Regions from separate parts of the Homo sapiens genome. Here region 2 is linked to region 1. The links are contacts of gene promoters, found by promoter capture Hi-C in blood cells and fetal thymus (Javierre and others, 2016). All regions are on one chromosome and are shown on one strand. The core of a region is centred on a gene start or on the middle of the fragment in contact, and the rest is flanking DNA. Distances in the headings are between cores, read along the strand shown.

Region 1 (7,316 bases), core at 3,836-6,335:
AGTATTTAATTCCTTGCTGTGTCAGCTACGAGGTCTTAAAAGAATTGACACTGAAGCAGCAAACAGCACTTCTTGAGCCCAGATTTTGGTTTCTGACACCATTCTCCAATAAAAGAAACCAAGATTTCTGAAAGATATGGCTAATTCTAGGCCTGGGGCATGATGACCCCAGAGCATCTTATAGTACTAGAAAGTAACCATGTGCTTAAAAACAAAACTAACCAAACAAAAAACCATACCACATTGATGGGAGTATATTAAAAGGAAATAGGACAACTAAGAGAGCTCCAGTGGCCAAAGCTGGGACAATTTGAACAACAAAGTAGTATTAGATTATAACTCAAAGTATAAAACAAATATTTATATGTCCATACTCATATACATAAATGATTAAATAAAAAGGGAGAAAAGACAAATCTCCCATGCAAAAAAAAAATGCCACATAATTTATCTACATATTCCACCAGCAAAAGGAGAAGCAGAAATCCCCACTCTTTAAGTGTGGGCTGCACATAGTGATTTCCATCCAAGGAGGATAGCATAGAACGGGGGAAAATGGTAACTTTACAGTGGAGAAACTTGACAAACACTATCTCATTCAGGTGATAAAGGTCAACATCACCAGTGATAAATCATGTTGATAGTATGAATCCTTGATAGGTAATGTGGTGCAAATTACTAAACCTCTAGTGGCCTCTAAGGGTAGTGATCTACTGTAATGGTCTTTTTCAAATGTTAAATATAATACATGCAAAATGTCTACCACCAGTGCCTGGCCCATAATAGATACTGAAAAACAGTATCCATAATTAAGAATTAAATGTTTGAAAAGTGCTCTAAATTTTTGTTTTCAAAATGATTGACTGAGGTGTCATTGATGTAGTAATACCTCTTAATTATTTTATAGACTTTTACAAATTTATAATGTGGTTCTTTCTATTTAGATCTTTGCATTGTGGAGCTAATATTGAAAGCATTTGTGTACATTATTATTTTGTTATGGCTGCATTTGTTAGTAAAGCCTCATATTATTTCTGCTTCTGTCTTTCTGTCTTGAGTTGGCTCAACATTGCCTCAAAAAGAATCATGCAAGAAAAAAGTACATGCTGGGCTAGACTTCAGAGTACTCTTAAATGCTCTGAGATTTCTGCTTACTACTGCCCTATTAAAGCTGTAAAAAAGAATCGGGATATCCAACTCTTATCTGTTCTTAGGATGTCTCCTCTGTTGTCAATGCATGATTTCAATACCAATTTGCAGGTTTTGACACCAATCCTTGTTAATGAGTATATAGTATTTAATGTTCAGTAGAGATGGTAGATGACACTGACAATATTGCATTATGAAGAAACTGGAGTTAATAGAATGCTTTAAGACATCAAAAGATTAAATGACACAACTGTTTGCTAGATGCAATTTGCCTAGGAGGTTAAAGGCATACTTTTCCTGCTTCTCAAAAAGCAATTAGAGCCAATTTGTGACAACCTGAATATGTAGAAGAAATTGTTTTTGTTTCAAAACTAAAAAACAGGCAACTTGGATATTCCGAATTTTTGCTTGTAGGTTTAGAAATCACTGGCAGTGGCTTGTTTAAAAGCATCTTACGGCCGGGCGCGGTGGCTCACGCCTGTAATCCCAGCACTTTGGGAGGTGGAGGCGGGCGGATCACAAGGTTAGGAGACGGAGACCATCCTGGCTAACATGGCGAAACCCTGTCTCTACTAAAAATAAAAAAATAAAAATAAAAAAAATTAGCCGGGCATGGTGGCAGGCGCCTGTAGTCCCAGCTACTCGGGAGGCTGAGGCAGGAGAATGGCGTGAACTCGGGAGGCGGAGCTTGCAGTGAGCAGAGAGCGCCACTGCACTCCAGCCTCGGTGACAGAGCGAGACTCCGTCTCAAAAAACACACTTGACTTTTGCCTCTTACCTCTTTTTGTCATGCTTTCCTGTGTTAATCAGACAGACTGGACACTGCTGCTGAGGAATCAAACCTTTTGCAGTAACAGTCACAGATGCATCCCTTACGATAGCTTGCTTTGTTTTAATTTCTGATAGCCAAAGAACCAGGCATCTCAGATCACCCTGTCCCAGGTTTCCTCTGTAACAACTGATATGAATAGGATGTTTTTAAGACATGGAATCTGTATCAAATTAGGTGCTTTTTTTTTTTAAGCTAGCTGTTTCTATAAGCATTCTCTTTTCCAACTATATAACTCCTTAATTTCCGTAAGTCTCTTAAATAGTATACCTTATTCGCTTTGTTGCTTCCCTTCCTAGGAAATTAACTTTGACTCATGCCCAAGATGTATTTAAGAAAGTGAAGGAGGCCAGGTGTGGTGGCTCATTCCTGCAATCCCAGCACTTTGGGAGGTCAAAGCCTGAGGATCTTTGAGGCCAGGAGTCCAGAGACTAGTCTGGCAACATAGTGAGAACACATCTCTACAACAAATTTAAAAAAAGGAAAAGAAAAAAGGTGAAGGAAAAGGCATAGCTCACAATTTTGTCCTAAACTTTTCTGTAGCATTCTAGTGGAAGTAACAATTGTCATACACTTCAACATTCCAGTGGCAGAAGTGATGTTCCTATTAATTGGAAGACAAGAGAACACACAATGGCCAACTTTTAAATAATTTAATCTTTCAACACCAAGGATTTTGTTTTTAAATAGTTTTAATTAGGTCTTTTCCTTTTAGTGTCTTTTAGGCAATGATTCACCCATTCATTTATTCACTTAAGAAATATTTATTGAGCATCTACTCTGTGCCATCTACTATTCTAGTATTTTAGGTACTAAGGAAACATTGAACAAAATGAAAAAAAAAAAATCCCCGATCTTGTGGAGCTTACATTCTAGCGGAGGGAAGGCAATAGAAAATAAAAATAGAAAATGACGATGTTAGAAGGTTAGAAGGTAAGTACTATGAAAAAAACAGAAGCAAGGAAGGGAGGATTCTGGGGAAGGGGCAATATTTTAAATGAGATGATTAGGGTAGGCTTCTTTGAAAAAAGATGACTTTTAAGCAAAGATTGGACAGAAGTGGAAGATCTAGCCATGCAGGTATTTGGTGGAAAGATCTTTGCAGATAGAAACTATACACAGTGTAAGGGCCTCAGGGCAAGAAGATGCCTTGGTGTTACAGAAGCAGGGAGCAGGTCTGTGTAACTGGAACAAAGTGCTTAGCAGAAATGAGGTCAGAGGGGTGGAGGTGAGGTAGGACTTGGGAGGCCAGCTAGCATAGGATTTTTAGGTTGCAGAAAAGACTCAGGCTGAGAAAATTAGGAAGCCATTGGAAGAGCGACTACTTTTGGTTTCCTTGTAAGTCTGTAGACAAACTTCTGAAAGTTAAAGGCATATTCATGTCATATCACAGATTGGTTCAATACTCAAGTGTCAACACTTAATGCCTTGCTTCTAGAAAAGATAAAAAGATGTAGTAAATAAAACTGAATACTCAAGCCAGACAACTACATTGCTGTTTTAATTTACTAGCTGGTATCTTAAATATTAATGAACCTCCTTCTCTGTTTTCTTATTTACAGGTTGGAACACTATCTTTTTCCAGGTTCCTTGTTGTCTCTAGTATCTCTTGGTATCCTTTGATACCTCAGTCCAGGTAGGATTTCCATGCTCATTTTCTATTTGTGGCTTCATCTGTCAATACCAGTAACACATTTTATTGTATTGCAGAGGTCAGAATTTTGCTGGTCCAGCAATGTGGAAATGATGTACAAAATGCAGATTAAAACAACAAGAAAAACTACTTTGCTTCAATTAGTTGAATTGAGCAAAATCAGTTTTTCTTGAATTTTTTGCATGACTGCTTAAATGAACCGTTTTGTTTCCTTGACACGATAGAGATAATACAAGGTTTGCAATGCCCTTATTGTTTTGAGACTGTAAGAGTAATACATTAAGTAAATTTCATTTAGCACAACAGTACTATTGTTAAATGGAGGGAAAAGATTCTGGTAAAAGGGAAGAAACTCCTGGCTTTAGTTTTCTAAAATGCTTTTGTACCTCTTGTAAGAATGACATGGAGGTGTTTTTAATGTCAAGTCTGAAAATTTGCTTTTCAATTTACTTGGAAACTGGTTTCTAATACAAAACAGGGTAGCACACTTTCCCAGCATGTTCAGGTAAACTACTTTCATCACAATTCAGGTAGAAGTGACTGCCTTTAATTCCGTACATCGCAAACCATCTAGTGGTAGATCTAGAATGGCGTCAGTCTCAGGGACTTCTATGCACATTGAGTTCCAGAGTTCAATTCCATTTAAGTTGGGACTATTTACAATGACATTTGCTGAAATTTGCTCACCTTGATATACAAGCATATTGTATTAAGCAGCTAGTAAACCTGTGGAGATAGCAGGTAAAACGTAAAGCCTGTTTTACGTTTTTTTAGAGGTGCATTACTTGTAGCATAACTAAACCTTCATTGTTAGGCAGGTGCTGGCCAATTACATCAGCAAGTCCTAACTCCGCTAGGATCGGGGTAAAGCCGATAAGCCGCATCATATCTACAACCTGTCTCGGACCCCTGTAAAGAACTCACTGAGGATTGGTAGGGACAAAGGGAAGTTTCTGTCAAAGTTTAGGAGAAAAGGGCCGCGCAGGGAGCTGTTTCAAATAACACTTAAATCCCAGGAGAAGAAAGCCGAACCCCAACTCTTCGGTCGCCGCGGGGCCAGGGAGACGCGAGAGGGAAGTTTTTCTAAAGGAAATCTGCCGCCTTGTCCCCAAGACCAGCGAGGTCCGCAGCGCCATCAGTCAAGTGTCGGCCTCTGGCATTTTCTCCTCTCCCCAGGGCGGGCCAACGCTAGTGGGCGGTGGATGATGCGCCGGCCCCAAGGGCGCGCACGTCCATTCCCGGAAGGCTCGGGCGCTGGGGCCCCTCTGCACTCCCAGCGGTCCCAAGTTGGCCCAGGCGCCCGGTCCCGGGGTCCTACAAGTCAGCGCCAAGCCGACTGCCGACAGCCTACCTCCGCTTCTCCGCGCGCCGGCGCTATGGAGACGGTCACGAGACGCCAGCAGCCCCTGCGCCCGCCAATGGGAACGCACGTTGCAGCGAGACGCGGACGTCGCTCTTCCAAGATGGCGGCGCGTCCGTCGCGAGCGACCGGGCCGAGGGGAGGCCAGCGAAGCCGAGTAAAACCGCCGCCCGGGAGAAGACTGAAGGAGCAGTTGCCGCCGTTGGCGGCGGCCCGAGCAGTTTTCGCTGCTGCTACGGCTGTTGCCATGAGGCGAGGCTAGGGAGGACCTCACTTCCCCGGGGTGTAATAATGTTAACTGAGGTAAGCGGCGACGGTGGCCAGTGTTTACCTGTGAAATGGGGAAGGGGCCGGCGCCAGCCCGTCAGAGAACATCATCTGTACGGAAGGTGGGCCTGACCCTTCGCCGTGGGCTCCAGGGCCCGAGGAGCAGCGGGGATCCTACAAGTGCCCTCAGAGTAGGAGCTGTGCTGACTCAACAGAGTCCCACCACCTCCGGCTGCCAGTGCCTCGCCTTTCGCAGTTGCCACTTGCCACTCGCCCCTGGCACTGGTCTCCCTCCTGCTGTCACTCCCTTCTAACTCATCGCTCCCTTCTTCGTGTCCCCTTACACGCTACTCTGTGGCAGCGTTGGCCTTTCCACGTTACTGCTGGTTCTTGTGATCCTATGGTTTGCCCTAGGTCTCCTTTCTCTGGTCCCTGGGCTCCAGGGCCCTCCGCCTCCGAGCTCGGTCAGCACCCTGGGGTTGTTGCTCGGCCCGACCGGTTTGTTTCCCACCCTCTACTTTGACTGCTTCATGAAGTGGACTTTTTTATCTCAAGCTGCACATGTATGGCTCAGTTGGGTCATCCCCCTCCCCCACATCCATCACCTTTTCGGTTAAATCGTGGTCATCACAAAGTTCAGTTTAGCATCTGCCACCTTGATTTGCGTGTGGCCCCCTTGTTACTCCCTATGGAATAGTTTTTTTCTTTGGACCTGAAATGGAAGTAGGGCAACTATGACGAACCAATCAATTTCCCTTTTCTAGTGCCTAATGGGCATTGCAAAAAGCCGACTTTTTGAAGAAGTAGAGTTTGCCTTTACTAGCAACACTTTAAGGGGAAGAACTAAATCGGTGCAACTAGGTACTTGACCCAGGTTAGCCCAGTTATGTGTTGTAGTATCTGCAGGTGTAGGTGTCACTGAACATAAAATACTGAACCTTGTGATTTGATGAAATACCTTTTTCGAAGCCTTTCACTTTAAGTACTGTGAGGATCCTGACGTGAGGAACTGACCGGATTGGGCATTTTTATGGGCTGAACTGAATAGGAAACAGTTTTAGTGGGCAATGGGAAGTATTCCTACATGGGCCAAAAAGGAAATACAAACATTTGTAGGTGAGTGGCTTTTATTTTGTGAAAAGTGATGGTAAAGCACGTACTTGCCTGAAATTTCAGGTCCTTGGAACGTGACTAACTTTGAGGAACTTTATACTTTGCTGTTTGTACTTAATCTAAGCACAGAGCCTGGCATATGATAAATACTTACTGGTTGATTGTAACTTCTACAGTACGTATTTTTAGTTGTTTGAAGTTCATTTTATATTTCTAAATTCTACAGATTTTTCATTCTTGGAGTTAATTGAGATTATGGTTATAGCATAAGTTTGTGTTGTGATTAGCAGTAATAGATTAGAAAAAAGAGTTATAAGTAGCAGAAGTTTCATTTTTACCTTAAGTGTGATATTTTAGTGGGAACAGTTAGCCTTATAATAAGTGTTTAGTGTTGTCTCTAATGTGTAATATTATATGATATGATCTTTTCCTTAAACTTAGCTTATGTTAACATGTTTCAGAGTTTTAATACTTTCAAATGAACTACTTGTGTGTCTGCCAGTAAAATGATTTGGAAAGATGGAGCTTTCTCAGCTTCTGTATTTTAATGCAATTTTGCGTTTTAGGGAAATATTTTAAACAGTAAATCAATGATAATATTAAGTAAACTGTACTTTAGTACTTTTTGTGTGAACACTGCACAACTTATAAGTGGCAGAAGCAGGATTCCAACCTTGGCAGTTGCCACCTAGCCCATTCTGTTAACTTTTCTAGATTGCCTCGCCAAAGTAAGACCCAGATTAAATTGTACTAAAGTCTTCCCTATAGTTTTCAGTAGTCGTTTATAGATTAGGAAACTGAAGCCAGAGACTCTTGTCCAAGGTCAATTATTAAATATTAGTGACAGTCGAAACTGGAATCTCATCTCCTAACTCTCAGTAGAGAGCTCTGACCGTTTTGCTCAGCTGCCTCTCAAGTAGTTTTCAGCTCTCTTGATAGATTTT
Region 2 (7,249 bases), core at 4,442-6,941, 170 kb after region 1:
CTGAGGAGTCAGTTTAAATGATACTTACAATCATGCAATTAATAATATCCTGATGATTAGATACCAGGTTTGGGTTCCTATTACAATAGAAGTACATCCCACCAAAACTGCACTTGTCTGAAGTCGGTGCATAGAAAACAGCTTTTAAGGAATTCACTAATTAATTCCCTCTGCTGAAGGCTAATTGTTGAAAAGATACTCCTTTATCAGTTGTGGTGAGACTCTGTCCCTTCCTGGCTAGTTCTACTTGTAACTGACCTGAGCTCTTTCACAGAGTGAGTCAACATGAAGTGAGGGAAATGAAAAGGGGCACTGGAATAAGAGTCTCCTGACTAAAATACTGTTTCTGTAACCCACTGGCTAAATGACCCTATTCACTGATAAAATCATTCCAGGGCAGGGGCTAGCTTGAGCCTCAGGTGTGCCCATTCTAGGATTCAGATGCTTTTTGGTATATAGTTGACTTATGGAGAGGCCCTACAAACCGTCTGGAAGACAATGTGTCCTAAGAGAAGTGAGAGAGAGTCTGGAATAAAAGCTTGGTCAAATAACCTTGCTCCAGTGATGAGTAAGGAATAATAACACAGAGGGCAGTATCTCAAAGAGGGGCTTTCCCAAAATCACTGCAAAACCTTGGAGTCACAGGGCAGTGACTCCATGTAGCCAAGATTGTAGCCCAGAAATGAAATCAATGAATTCTCAGTTCAGCGGAACAGTTTTGGTGTGCCAGGTGTCTGGAGAGCAGAACATATCTTAGGCACCTGTGAACCATTGGCAAGCAGAGCTCTGGTGGACGTGAGACCCAGTGAGGTTCTGGATCCTGGCTCTTCTCCTTGGATGTGTTGCTTTAGGAGTTATTTTCCTGTTAGCCTAAGTCATTTGTTTTTCTTAGGAAACTTTTCACTCATTAGAAGTTAAGCTTTCTAAATGATGTTCACACATTCTTTTGCAGAGCTATTTATATTTCTTGAATTATTGCTGAGCTTGCAAATTACATTGAGGATTTTCTTATATAAATAAAACAGCATCAAATTAGAGTTTAAAAAAAAATTAGTTTCTGTTTCTTTAGTTCATCTGCCAGCTGGTATTTAGAGCCCATCCGTTGGTCTTGGTGCTGTGAAGTGCAATGATATAGCCTTCCATTTATGGAGTTACTTACTTCTTTTGGGCTGCAGTCATGGAGATAAGCTTGCCACGAGTCAGCTTACAACTTATAAAAAATAATTAGGCACTTTTACATTCTGTCTTCTAACTCTCCACTTCAGAGTGGCCCTTCAGAGTTTGATTCTTGAGGCTATTCTTTATTGATGGGTGACATGCCTTTCCCTGAATAATAGCAATCCTAGCTAACAATTAGTGCTTGACATTTGAAGTGCTTTAAATCCTTTGAAAACCCCCAAAGATTTAAGTATTATTATTATTGCCTCCATTCTATAGCTGGAGAGACTCAGTTACAGGGGCAGGGTACATCATCTGTGCACAGCCACACCGTTGACACTTGGCACCAGAATTCCAAGTTGCTCTTAATCACTCTGTAGTTCTGCCTCCAAATAGTGAGAGAAGAGAGCCACTGGGTGGAAAGCCAAGTTTGCAAGCAGAGAGACTGGACTGTGAGTCACAATGGGAGCAAGTGGTTAGGACAGCAAAAGCAGTGGCTCATGAGATGTGAGCATATGTGGTTGACTGATTGATGAATGTGGGAGCTCTGAGTACATAACACTATTAAGTGGATGACTCCTTGAAAACTGGACATAGGACATGCAAGGCATTATTGATTCGTATCAATTAGTGGGTCTGTTTCTATAAAGTGACAAGCATGAATTCATTTTCTTTGTCTTATTAATTCTTGCTCCCCTCCAATGACTTGGAAAGAAATTCAGATGACTTCTAATATTTATCAGAGATGAAACTATTGATTCATACCTTTAAGGATGATACGTTCAGAATGCTAATTTCAAGAAGAAATAACAGTTGCAAAGTTGTTTTATCTCAATGTTTTACTAGAAGGAAGACCTACGTAAGTTTGTCCCAAGACTAAGGCAAATCTAGAGGACTGATGCCACAGGCTGGCCAGGTACCACTGGCATGAGGGACTGAGAAACTTGGGATGGAATGCACTGTATTGGAAGAGGGTTAAAGAATGGTAGGTCAGGAAGGAAGGGGTGGGATGTCTATCACTCATTTAGATGGTCCTCAAGTCCTGTTTCTGCTATGAGTCTGAAAGTAAAGAGTATAATGAAAGATAAGATCGAAAATGAATAAATCTAGGACATTGAGAGCACAAGGTGTCAGGAGCTTGGCATGGAACTTAGGGCTTTACAATCTGGGCACAGAAATGTGAGAGTGAGGGCCTTAGCAGCCATGGTGGTACCTTTACAGGCATTAATCAGCACAAAACTGAGCAGATGAGAGTTAAAAAAAAAAAAAAAAAAAAAAAGGCTGAAACCTAAAGAGTAGTCAAGAAGACCGGGCTAAGGGACACAGGCGATGTCTTCTGGAACAATTTAGGGAGAATTTAAGGCACCTGTAGGTCTCCCAGGATGGATGAACAAGGGAGAGAACCGGTCATTCGTGGCTATATTGCAACCCAGTGTTTATCTACAGGCTGTGCTGACAAAGCTTATTGTGCAATGGGGTTGTGTGGCTGCTCTCTTTAGAACTGCTGCCCCTTTGGTCTCCTATTTAGAATTTATGAATCATCTAGTACAAGAGAGTTACTTCAGACTATGACAAACCAATCAGTGCTATTGTGGTGAAAGTTTCTAGCTTCCTTAAGTCTTTCTAATAAGCTAAGGCTCATTAACAGATAATCCTCTGGCAATAAATTGGAAAATAACAATAAAAGGACAGTTGTTTTATACTGTTCAGCTAGTTCTTGAAGAGATTGGTTTCTAAAATACACAGTCTTTAAAACTGTCCACAGAGTAGGATAGTTAAGCTTTTGAGATTGTTGGAGAACAGAGCCTGCTATTCTCTTGGAATATCTTTCATCAGCAGGTGCTGTTTCTTTTTCTTTTCAAGACATTAAAAGATCAAAGAAGTATGAAATGTGCCCTAAGGCAGCTGAGCTGCTAATCATACACATAAAAATGAAACTGTGATGGGGGTTGTGAACAAACGCCTTTTGGCACCTGCTTTTGTCATCTTGGTTTGTTTTTCTTCCCACAGCATTTTACACCTCCTAATTTAATTTGTGTCGGGGGGGGCCCCCCTTCTTCCAGCTGTTCAGACCTAGAGGGCACAAACACACTTTCCAGCTGTGGTTATTGCAGCTTAACATGGAGCAGGGATTGAGCCAAGAGCACTGGCCAAATCATATTCAGGCCTTGAGGTCTAGCGCTCACACCGCCTTATCCACTGTGAGCTGCTAACTTGAGACTGTGAGTCTGATAGGGAGTCTGCAAAGTTCAAACACTGTCAGGAAGTTTATCCTATTCAAACAGTGCTTTCAAGGGGACTTAGAGGGACATTGGCTCAGAGTGGCCCATGTAGGAGCTTTGCAATATGAAAAGGAATTTTGGTTGGAGTAGCTCCTGTGACATTCTCGCCATACTCCATTGAATTTGTGCCAGTCCACCTCTCCATTCTCAGGAGAGTCAAGCTGCTGTTTTGATATGCTTTCTAGGGAATATAGGCAGATCCTGGGTGCCAACAGCAGGCACACACACCAAGCTAGGAGTATGAAAAATTAGAAAGTTTGCTTTTGGTTCTGCACTTTAACACAATGGCAATAATATGAACAGACAGTGGTAGTATGCTTTCTCTTTGGACCACAGACAATGGGAATTTAACCTTAATCCTCAGTCCTGCTGCTTTCCAAAGGAAGATGAAAGGTAGTTGCAGAGTTGAGCAGACAGAATGATACGAATTTGAAAATCTCAGCAGGTGTGGGGCTCAGTGCGCTATCCTCAGGGACAGTGCTTCTCTAGATCTGTTTTCTGCTGAAGCCATCACTGTAAAACTACTGTTCATTATTTCTGTAACTTCCCCAGGACGATAAGGGATGTCAGCAATAACATGGTACATTAAACAGACCATAAATTTATCTCCAGGACTAAAATAATACTTGAGTGCAAAAATAAATGGATCTGGCTGCCTCATAAACTAAAAACTTAGTACCCAAAGGGACAAAATAAGCCCAGAAATAATTCAAAATACATAAGAAAATTCACTTCATGATAGAAGGACATCTGAAATTAGTGGGGCAAAGAGGGCAATTTAATAATGGATGTTGCGACAAATAATGAGCTTGTTCATACCTTACCTGTGTATCACAGTAAACTTAAAATACATTAAAAATCACACATTTAGAAAGAAATCCTGAAAGCACCAGAAGAAAGTATTAGGATAATTACTTTTTATCCTTGAAGTGGAGAAGGTCTAATGATGACTCAAAATCCAAAAACCATGAAATAAATAACGCAAGTACATAAAATTAAAGATAACTTTTGCATAGTAAATTATACCATAAGTACCTAAAAAGTTAAATGAAAAATTGGGAAAATTTTTTAACTCATGTAACAAAGACTAAATTCCTAATACATACAGATCCAAAATTCAATTTGAAAAAAGATTTATTTTAAACATAAAGTCAGCATATTATACACATTCTGACCCTTGCCTTTCAGCTCAGTGAAAGCTTCTTAGTTTTTCACAGCTGCGTTTCATTGGGGGAATCATAATTTCTTTAACCATTCCCCTAGTGATGAATATATGAGTTTGTTTTTCCAAATCTTCTGCCATTAAATCATTTTTCAAAAAGAAGAATTATAATGTTCAAAAGCTTAGACTCTGAAATCTGGTTGCCTGTGGGTTCGAGTTTTGGCTCTGTCAATTTCAAGCTACTTAACCTTGGGCAAGTCTTAACCTGTCTGTTTCCTCATTTGTATAAGAGATTTGAAGTTAATAGAATCAACAACAGGAGACAGTTGTGAGGATTCAGGGTGCTAATATGTAGGTAAAGGACTTAGACTAGTACCTGGAGCACAGTAAGTCCTCTGAAAGTGTTAGCTGTTATTACCACTATGTGCCAAATGGTAGAAATTGGACTAACTTTATAAACTTCTGCTTTTATAATGTTTAGGACTCATGGTAAGAGAGGCAGAACTTAAAGGGCAGATGCTGTCTCTTAATGGCAAAAAGGGAAGTCCAATGGTGAGGCAATAACTGTTTCTTGCTGTTTAATGAACAGCTGCTTAAAAATGCAGCATGTCAGTCACCAGCGTAGACATCAGTAAATGAAAGGAGTGGCTTTGAAACGTGAATTTTATTAAGTATAGCAGGAGATTCTGCTGCAGATAGACCCAGAAGACATTTTGAGAAAATAATACTATCCCCTGGGTGAACGATACTCAAACTGTAACTATAGTGCCTTAGAGAAATTGATCAGGTTCAAGCTTCATGGACGTTAAGCCATAGTTTAGATATTTAAAAACATCATAGACCAGCCCAGGGAAGAAAATTTCAATGAAGTATCAGAATGTATGATGTTAACTTTATCAAGTCATTATTACTTCATAACTACCTTCTGGGTATGTTGCTTGTTAGTGTTTTGCATTCTAATTTATACTGTAGGTCCTGAGGTCTGGAAGCTTGATTTCTAGTTTGTCCCCTAAGTCCAGGACATATTCTCTTAACACATTTTGTTAAACACATTTTAATGCTCTCTAAACACATTTTTACGTCATTTAGAGCTACTAAAGATAGAGGGAAGTTCTAATGCTTGCTTCAAGATTTTTTGTAGCCCTGTGAGATCGAGATTGGTGGTATAAAAGAAATAGTACAAGCTTTATAGTCAGTCAAATCCCAGCCCATCAATTACTAAACTGGGAAATGTTGGGAAAGTTATTAAACTTAGAAAATCAGTTTCCTCTTTTATATCATGGTGGTAATACTGTACTCTATTCCCACAGTTATTCTAGAGAATAGAGATAATGCCCATAAAGAGGAAGCCACGCAGCAGGTTTTCAATGAATGGCAGTATTATTTGATTAAAGCTGTCTTTTCTAGGGACTTCTCTTCTTGTTGTCTGATGCCCCCTCCTGGACAGTCCAGAACCTGAGCTGAGCAACTGTCAACATCACTTGCTTGAAACTAAAGGTCATGAGGTATGCAGAAGCAGTGTTTTAGGAAGAGTCTGAAATCAAAGCCAGAGCCAGTCCAACCAAGGGGCAAATCCAGAGGGTATGGTAGAGGTGGAAACCAGAGAAATTAGATGAGGGTGGAGGTGGAAGCCTGGAGGAATTGTCTGAATGACAATATAAGATATTACTTCCCACTGATAGTTACATGCCCAGAATTTACATACATTATCCCAGTTAATCTTCACCAAAATCTCATAGGACAGTGGTCCCCAACCTTTTTGGCACCAGTGACTGTTTACGTGGAAGACAACTTTTCCACAAATGGCTGCGAGTGGGATGGTTTTGAGATGAAAGTGTTCCACCTCTGATCATTGGGCATTAGTCAGACTCTCATAAGGAGCACAACCTAGATCCCTCACATGCACAGTTCACAACAGGATTCATGCTCCTATGAGAATCTAATGCCACTGCTAATCTTACAGAATGCGAGGCCAGGTGCGGTGGCTCACACCTGTAATCCCAGCACTTTGGGAGGCCGAGGTGGGCGGATCACCTGAGGCCAGGACTTTGAGACCAGCCTGACCAACATGGCGAAACCCTGTCTCTACTAAAAATATGAAAATTAGCCCGGTGTGGTGGCGTGCGCCTGTAATCCCAGCTACTTGGCAGCCTGAGGCATGAGAATCACTTGAACCTGGGAGGCAGAGGTTGCAGTGAGCCAAGATCGCACCACTGCAGTCCAGCCTGGGCAACACAGTGAGACTTTGTTTCAAAAAACAAAACAAACAAACAAACAAACAGAAAGTGGAGTTCAGGTGATAATGCTTGCTCACCCACTGCTCACCTCCTGCTGCACAGCCTGGTTCCTAACAGGCCACAGACCAGTACCGTTGATGGCCCAGGGATTGGGGGCCCCTGCTGTAAAACATAGGAGTAAATATTAATAAATTTTGATTAAGCAATAGCTTCTTACATGTGACACCAAAAACACAAAGAACCAAAGAAAAAAATAGATACATTAGACTTTATCAAAATTAAAATTAAAAATTTTGTGTTTCAAAGAGCACTATCTAGAAAGTGAAAAAACAACCCACAGGGAGAAAATATTTGTAGATTATATATCCGTTAAGAGACTTGTAACCAGAATTTCTAAATATATATATATA

The links. Contacts are between HindIII fragments. The CHiCAGO score rates a contact against its expected background, and 5 or more counts as called.
Region 2: a fragment that was not itself captured here is called in contact with the fragment with the promoter of SNX13 in region 1 in 2 of 17 cell types (megakaryocytes and M1 macrophages); the score reaches 5.9 in megakaryocytes.

The regions. Positions count from the first base shown.
Region 1 is chr7:17,938,263-17,945,578 of GRCh38, reverse strand. It overlaps SNX13 (sorting nexin 13), which reads left to right and starts at 5,085. Exons shown (of 26, transcript NM_015132.5): 1 at 5,085-5,295. The coding sequence starts at 5,284. The HindIII fragment of the contact is 12,825 bases long and covers 1-7,316 here.
Region 2 is chr7:17,768,822-17,776,070 of GRCh38, reverse strand. No RefSeq gene overlaps it. Among named protein-coding and RNA genes, the nearest start is that of SNX13, 170 kb to the left of the region's middle. The HindIII fragment of the contact is 195 bases long and covers 5,594-5,788 here.